Linked DNA regions of Homo sapiens: region 1 is linked to region 2. Evidence: promoter capture Hi-C in 16 types of primary human blood cells and fetal thymus (Javierre and others, 2016). All regions are on one chromosome and are shown on one strand. Each heading gives the region's core, a stretch centred on a gene start or on the middle of the fragment in contact. The rest is flanking DNA. Distances are from core to core; before and after follow the strand shown. Region 1 overlaps PRDM2 (PR/SET domain 2). Region 2 holds the start of PDPN (podoplanin).

Region 1 (4,189 bases), core at 28-2,527, 220 kb after region 2:
ACACAGCAAGTCCGTAATGGAGCTAGGATTCCAGCTCTGGGCTCTGGAATCCCCACCCCATCCTCCTTTGGGTTCCTGCCCTGCTTCTTTCTTCTCTGTCTTCTCAGCCCTTCCCCCAGGCTGGGGGCTTCATTTGAATGGGCAGGGGCTTCCTGAAGCACGTGGGCCTTCCCACTTGGGGAAGGTGGGTCCTGCAGTGGATGTCGACTGTTCCTGGAGGTGGCTGAGGGCCGATGGCTCCCACAGCTCCCACCTGTGGGCCCTCACCCAGCCCCCAGGGAATATCAGCATCATCACAGGCTTGTCTTACCTTTGCACCATCTCCCCACCCTCTGCCTTTCCCCTACCTTCAGCAAAAGTGCAGAATATCAGACACTGACTTCAAATGAATTGCACTCTGAGAATTTAGAGAGTTGTGTAAGACTTCTGCGGCCAGCGATGTGGCCTAACCAGCTTTCTGTATGGCTGTCCCAGGAGATCCCTCCTGAAGACTGTGAGAAAAAGGTGCAAGGAGGGACCAGGGCAGGCAGAGATCCCAGCCCAGGATGCCCATGGCGGTCTGGCAGGGAGCTTGGAAGAGCACCGTGGCCACGTGGGGACCCTGGAGCCCTGGAGAGCCCATGTCCTCTGAAAGCCGGCAGCTCCTTCCCTCCCAAACTCCTTTCCCTCCACCCTTCTTGAAGCGTCCTCTGGGTTCCTGCCTCCAGTGTCTCTTCTCCCCTTCTCTCTTGAACTCACTTTCAGGGTTTTGGCTCTTCTTGAGGAGCCATCAAACCAAGGTTATCAGCAGCCCCCAGGATGCTCAATGCAGTGGTTGGTTTCCAGTCCCATCTCCCTTGGCCCATCTGCGGCAGTGGACGCTGTTAATCCTTCTCTTCCTTGAAATACTCTCCACCTGGACACCGCCCTCTCCCAGTCTCTGCACATTACCAGCTGCTCCCCCGCATCCCGCCTCCATCCCTGGGCTCTGTCCCCCGCATCCCGCCTCCATCCCTGGGCTCTGTCCCCTCGCTCCGTCTCCGCTCCCCCTTGGTGATCTCATCCAGTCACATGCGTTAAATACCACCTGGATGCTGACCAATCCCGGGTTTCCACCCTCATCAGAATCTCCATTCAGCCGCCCACCTGACATCTCCCTTGGGTGTCTAGATTCAAATTTAATCTTTCCAAAATGAAACTGTCTCTCCATGAAGCCTCCCTCTCCTGCTGTCCTCCCTATGTGGGATGAATGGAAACGGTCCTGCTTGGAGTCCAGCTACCAGCTAGACTCCAACCTCTTCCTCCATCCCCACATCCAGCTCATCAGCAGATCCCCAAACTCACCCGGAATCCACAGCTTCTCTCAGCTCAGCCTCCTCAGCTGACCTGAGGTCCAGGCCACCATCATCTCCCTGGATGGTGGCAGTCACCTCCTTGCTGGTGTCCCCAGTTCCTTCCCTGTCAACCCACGGTCTGTGCCCAGCACAGCAGCCACTTTGGGTCATGATATTCCTCTGCCCAGAAGGACAACTGACTGACACCTCACTTGAAGGCCTATGAGACCCTCCCCTCTGCCCACATCACCTCAGACATTCCTGGTGGGTCTCACCTCAGGGCCTTTGCACTTCCTGTCCCCACTTCCTGGAACGCACAAGGCGTAGTATCCGGACCGATTGATCCCCCCACCCCAGGTCGTAGCCCACACACTGCCGTTTCCCATGTCACCTTTCCCTGTCTTCTCCTCCACTCTGACCTTCACTCCTGTTTCTTCAGTTTCATTTTCTCTTGTATATTTCAGTGTGTCTGGATTTCTCCCTTATCCAAAACCACTGGGGGCTGAATAAGAATGTGGTCATTTGGGAGCCAGGAGGCCTGAGTCTTGGCCTCGTACGGGCATCAAACTCCTTCTGAAATGAGTATCTTTCCTCTCTAGGCTACACTAAGTGACATGTAAAACTATGCTATATGTAGAGAACTTGACTTGTTTTATTCACTAAAACTCCTGTTGGCAAAGCACCTGGCACAGAATAGACACACCGTTCACCTGACAAATAGTAGATGACTGCTACTGTATGCCAGCCAGCGGCTGGGGTGCTGGAGGTGCCTCCGTGACAAACCAGCCTCCAATGCGCCCCCTCATGGAGCCTGCTAGACAGACAGTAAACAATAACCAGTAAACGCAGCTCTGTTGATGGGGATAAGCACAACTCAGAAAGTAAAAGGGAGTCGAGATGGGGAGTATCAGGGGGATTTGTGATTTCAAATAAAGTGGTTAAGCGAGGCTCACTGGGAATGAGACATTTGAACAGAAACTTGAAAGGGGGCCTGGGAGTGAGCCACAAGACCACCTGGGGGAAGAGTGTTCCAGGAACAGCCTGTGCCGAGTCCCTGAGGCAAGAATGGGCCACTGGAAATCTGAATGACTGAATGAAAGAATGAATGCATCCTTGAGGCCAGGAACAGAGCAGATGTTCTATTTCTAGACATGTTCTATTAGACGTTCTATTGTATAGATAATGCCCTTGCATTGTCTTCAGACTAGCAAGGAATTCTGACAAGTAAGAAATTAGGATCCCCAGGAGACGATGCTCTGAGGCACCATTTCTGAGCCTTCCTATGAGCCGGGAGTGGACCAGGTGTTTGAGGTCTGCCCTCTGCCCAATCCTTCCCCGTCCATACAGATTGGATGGTGTATGACATCCCCCTGTGCTTTCAAAGTCCATTAGTTTTTGTTCTAAGTAAAATGTCCAGAAATTTCCCTCCTAGAGTAGGCAGTAGAGCACACTTTGCCAGAGGCCAGACACTTCTGGGCAAAGCCTGTGTGGGGCACACAGCAGGTTCCTCCCAACCCTGCTACTATGTTTAAAATGTTCAACCACTGTGTATGAAAATCTTACCAAGGTAATGCTACACTCCCCTGCTTTCTAAAAACAGTTGATGCTGGGCCGGGCGCGGTGGCTCACGCCTGTAATCCCCACACTTTGGGAGGCCGAGGCGGGCGGATCACGAGGTCAGGAGATCGAGACCATCCTGGCTAACATGGTGAAACCCCATCTCTACTAAAAATACAAAAAATTAGCCGGGCGTGGTGGCGGGCTGAGGCAGGAGAATGGCGTGAACACGGGAGGTGGAGCTTGCAGTGAGTGGAGATCGCACCACTGCACTCCAGCCTGGGCGACAGAGTGAGACTCTGTCTCAAAAAAAAAAAAAAAAAAAACAGTTGATGCTGAACTTGTTCAACCCTTTCTTGATGTCTAGGATTGAGGACTACGTATCTCATTCATTTTGCCGGGATTTTATGGAGGAGCATCTTGGGGAGCATAGTAAGTCCATTTTCCCTCCCCTGCACTGAACAGATTTCTTGGTGTCTGAGAACAGCTGTGCAGTGGGAATATCACAGAGTCTTGAATTGCTCATTTCTTCCTTCCTTACATGTTGAGGGTCTATTATTCACTCACGCACAGTTAGGTACTAAGAATACAATGATGAACAAAACTCAACCACGCTCTGCCATCAGAGACCTTACGGCCCCCTGGGGAGACCTGCCTTTATCAGACAGTCGCAGATGCATGAGAAACTGCCCGTGTGGGGGCCGGTGTGGGAACCTGACCAGGGCCATGTTGCCTCAAGAGGGCGACCACAGAAGCATCTCCAGAGCAGTGGTTCTCAACCCAGCTGCATGTTGGAATCACTGAAGAGCTTAAAAATACCATTGCCCAATCCTGCCCCAGAGATCCTGATGTCATGTCCTGGCATGCAGCCCAGGCCTCTCTGGGTGAATCTAGTGAGGAGCCGAGGCTACAGGCCACTGGGAAATGGGGTCTACCCAGATTAGCTGGAGTAAACAAGAACAGAAGGGGAGAGATGGGCTGGGAGGGCAGTGCAGGCTGGACTTGATGTATCAAGGAACTTGGACTGCGTCCTGGGAGCCATGGGGTTTTGACAGGTTGCAGCAGGGGCGTGTCGTGGTCCGTTTTGCCTTTTGGGAAGACCGTCACACTTCTGTGGAACAGATGGGAGGGGAGCCAGTGTGGAAGTGAGAAGTCCAGTGAGGAAGGCGCCTTGCAGGACTCCAGGCGAGAGGTGGTCCCCGACAGTGGTAGAAGAGGAAGGAAGGCGGACTCGATGGAGCCAGTGGCAGGTGACGTGTAGCAGGAGAGAGTGACGGAGGGACCGTGTTGAGTCTCAGGTCTCTGGCTTTCAGGGCACA
Region 2 (4,171 bases), core at 881-3,380:
AATGGAGCCACATACCCTCCTTCTTTCCCTCTTCCCCTCAGCTGAGCAGGGTCTCATGCTTCCAGATCCCCTGTGTTTCACTTCAGCTCCTTTAGCTAACCGAGTCTCGCTGCCCAAGGCCCATATTCCTTCTCTCATGAGCTGCTGGCTCTATCTGGTCCAGGAGGGTGAGTTCTTTCTTCCCTCTGGTCTTCAGGTTCCCCCTCCCAAGACCCAGCTTTTCTCTCTAGGTTTTCAGACCAACAGCACCCAGAGCCGATCCACTAACTCCTTCATCCTGGCCCCTCTCCCCACCCCAGGACCCCCAGCTGAATGCAATTCCTTATTACCTCCCACTCCTCCATCCTGATCAAAAGGTCATGTGACCAACCTTCTAGATTCTAGACACATCCGGGGGTGTGGGATAGAAGGCAGGTGTCCTTGAATCATGACCTAGCCTCAGCATCCCTCTAAATTAGTTGCATGTAACCCAATCTCCCCCACCTAGGCTTCACTGTGTTTCAATCTTTTTGAATAAAGCGGGCCATCTTTCTTTCTGTGTGTGACCTTGGAGTTACACATAAGCAGAATAGATGTGCATCTATTCTCCATCTAACAGGCTCAACAGACAATGCACTATTCCTCCTGTCAACAGACATTATTGACACTAGAGTCATAAAATGCATCTCCAAGATGGGGAAGTCAGTTCAAGAAAGAGTATCTGTATCACGAGTTTTCTCTTTACATTTCCAACTCCTTGGCTCTAGGGGTGTTGCCGCTACCCCTCATCTTCTAGGTTCAGGTGCTCAGCTCCTGTTTGTAGCCCCAGGACAAGACGTTACCTGGGAGATCTTTAGAAATGCAGAATCTCTCCCTATCCCACAACAGAATTGCACCTGCATAACCAGTGCCCCAGGTAGATCTGGCTGAGAAGCTATGATGAAGGGCAAGGTTTGCCAAATGTTCATGGGGACAAGTTCTCCAGCGACACTGGTTTAAAATAGGAATTCCGAAAAGGTCTGATTAATGAGTTTGGGGTGGAACCCAGGAAACTGGGCATTTATTTAAAACAATCTCTCCTGTGATTCTTAGAAAGTAAATTTATAATGGGGAGGGGTCAAAGATAAGCATCTGAAAACAATTTTCACGCAATGTGGAGCTTTGAGACAGCGTTAGTCTTCAGGTTCTTTTGTTGAATGGAATTTGTGGCATCTGGGAGTGGAGCAGAGACCACTTCCCAAACTCCTGTTCTTATTTTTTTAAATTCCAGCAATTCAGAAGGAATTAAAGTAAAAGACGTAAGTTCTCTGGTTGCTGATATCTGGTACCTGAGATCAAGGCAAGATCGCTTAAACCAGTAAAGTGAGGATTATGGGAGCAAACTCAGGAATAAAGAGGGTGAACCAGGCCTGGAAGGGGACACAGGTTTGGCGACCAGACGGGTCACCGCTTGGCCCGGCCTAATCCAACTGCGCACGTCGGTGGGCCACAGCATCGCAGCGCTGGATCCCCGGGTCGGCAGAGGCGGATGGAGTTCAGCCTCTTTTTCAAAACTGCCAAAGCCACCCGGTCTGCCAAACTCCCCCACCAGCCAGCTCTGGGGCAGCCCCCCGGAGCCCGCCCGCTCCGGTCCCCGGGACAAGGGCGCAATTGACCAGCGCGGGCCGCCTCTGGCCCACCCAGATGACGGCCAACTTTTTTTGTTTTTAAGCCATCAAATTCAATATTTACAGGAAAAACCCCATGCTTGGTTCTAAAACTACTGGCCACTCAAGAAACAGTTTACTTCTCACTTCTGCCCATAACAAGAAAAACATAGACTTGTGCCTTACTCTTAAAAAAATAATAATAATAAATATAGGTTTTTTAAAATTTATATATAATTTTTAAAACCCCGTTTGTTGCATGTGGTCCCTTTCCCTCCTGTTGTTGAGCAGAATAAAAGCCCATTTTGCCAGGGCCCGCAGTCCTGGCGGCCCCCGCAGCTGCGGCCCTGTAACTTTAAACCTGGCCTGAGATCATCGTTTTGGCGCCGGCCAAACAGAGCCCGAGGGCGGGCCTAGCGCGCCCGGACGGAGACCACCTTGCGGCCGACCCCGCTCCCCCGCCTCCTCGGGAGAGATAAATGCTGACTCCGCTCGGAAAGTTCTCAACTGCAAAGTTTGCTGTCCGGCTGCCTAGGGTCTGGGAAGCTCGGGCACCCTCCCTCTCCGGGGCTCCTGCTCCCACCCCTCCGGCCCCCCCACCGTCGCGCTCCTCCAGGCTGGGCCTGTGGCCGCGGTGCTTTTTAATTTTCCCCCAGCTCAGAATCTTGCTGCTCGGCCCCCAGGAGAGCAACAACTCAACGGGAACGATGTGGAAGGTGTCAGCTCTGCTCTTCGTTTTGGGAAGCGCGTCGCTCTGGGTCCTGGCAGAAGGAGGTAAGACCCAGCGCAAGTGGCTTCCTGCCGTCGCTGATGGGGACGAGCGAGCAGAGACTTGCTGGAATGCCCGGGCCTGGTATTCGAGGTTGTCCAGGGGAGCGCGGGGGAGCTGAGGGTGTGTGCGTGTCAGGCGGCTGAGCGCCGGAGGAGGAGAGGCAGCGGCTTAGTCGGTGCCAGGTCCCAAAGACGCAGCTGCGCGGGTGTGCCGGGAGGAGCCCCGGAATCCACAGGCTGCGAGGTGGGCAGCACAGGGGGCCTCCCTCCGAGTCGGCAGCACCAGAGAGATCGGGTGGAAGGTTCACAGTAGGCAGCCCCGCTTGCTGGCAGCAGTGGCTGGGGTTTCCTTCCCATAGAGCGGTGTGTTGGAGGAATACGCACGCCTCGGGAGAAGCTGGCCTCGTAGAATCAGGAGGGACGTTCAGGAGGGCTTGGGCCAAGGGGAGGGTTCCCCGCCCTGCGGTGGCCCTGGTCCCCCTTGGGACTACCTAGTCTGGCGCCCTGCCTGTTGGACACACTCAGCACCCCGTCACTGGACTGGAAGAGGCCTCCTTTATCCTCTTTAGAGAGGATAGTGTGTGTGGAAAGGATCCAAGTGGAGGCTTCCGAGGAGTGTGAGTGCATGAGGATTGTTACGCGTTACGAACATTGAGGTTTAAGTGGGTTTGAGCCACGTGTTCATCTTGGGCAACAACATCAGTGGCTGAATGTCTGTTGGTGACTCCTTAGGCTTTAAATATTTTGTATCCCATGTTGGGGTGGGGGCGTCCACAGCTTCCATTACCCTTTGTCCTCTCCTGGAGCCTTACCTCTTCCCGCTGGGTTGCTGTGTTGGTGGTCTCCATTGACATCTGTCAACATTTTGTTTTCTTTTCTTGGGTTTTTATTTTTATATTTCCTCAATAGAACATATGTTCTGCAGGACGCAGCTACATCCAGCCATGATTCCCCACGGCCAAAACAATGCCTGGCACATAGTAGTTGCTCACTAAATGTTGGTTGAAGGAATTGTAACCTAACTCGTGATCTTTGGGGCTGGAGGTTGCTGAGTTATGCTGTGAAAAGTAAACATTTTCCAAAAATTGAGGATCAAGGTAGGCCTAGGCCCTGAGGAATACTTCTTGGAGAGGGAGCGGTTTGCAGGAGGGGTGCGCCTAACCTGGCCTCCTACAATGGTCCACACAGACAAAAATACCCAATCTCAGGGAAATGACAGAGTTCTGCTCTATGCTGTGCTGTCTGCTTCAAAGGGACTGAGCAACTCTTTTTATAGGGGCCGTGGGTTATTCGTAGCAGTCCTATCTTTGGAACTTCTCTTTCCACTGGAATATATACAGTTCTGTATTTTCAGTTACATTTCCTTTTTGGCGAGACAATGTGCAAATGACACCGTTTTGTGCTCACCAGGGCAAAGCAAGGGAGCGCCCTCACTTCAGCATCTCAGCCCTGCTAAAGAAAAAGCTGCTGGGTAACATCCTTTGTTTTTGCCCAGGGAAGCTTTAGCTGTGATTCCCTTCAGCCGGCTCCTGAATGTCAAAGGTACTCCTAAAAGATGGCGTTAAAACCGAAAAACCATCGTTGGTGCTGGAAACTCCACTACTAAAGAAAGAAGTGGTATGCGGGGCTGGCTGAGTGAGGGTGGGTGCTGAGTTGCCTGGCTGCCAGAGGAGCAGAGGCCCAGCAGGGTTTTTGTCTGAGAATAATGAGCGAGGCGACTTGAATATGGATGAATAACATCATTGAGCGAAGCTATTGTGGGCTTTTGTTGGGGA

Evidence for each region. Contacts are between HindIII fragments. The CHiCAGO score rates a contact against its expected background, and 5 or more counts as called.
Region 1: a fragment that was not itself captured here is called in contact with the fragment with the promoter of PDPN in region 2 in 1 of 17 cell types (total B cells); the score reaches 5.0 in total B cells.

What each region holds. Positions count from the first base shown.
Region 1 is chr1:13,805,288-13,809,476 of GRCh38, forward strand. All of the region lies in intron 8 of PRDM2 (PR/SET domain 2), which reads left to right. Among named protein-coding and RNA genes, the nearest start is that of PRDM2, 110 kb to the left of the region's middle. The HindIII fragment of the contact is 7,820 bases long and covers 1-4,189 here.
Region 2 is chr1:13,581,702-13,585,872 of GRCh38, forward strand. PDPN (podoplanin) reads left to right here and starts at 2,131. Exons shown (of 6, transcript NM_006474.5): 1 at 2,131-2,399. The coding sequence starts at 2,333. RefSeq lists an enhancer at 2,034-2,572. The HindIII fragment of the contact is 6,524 bases long and covers 1-3,894 here.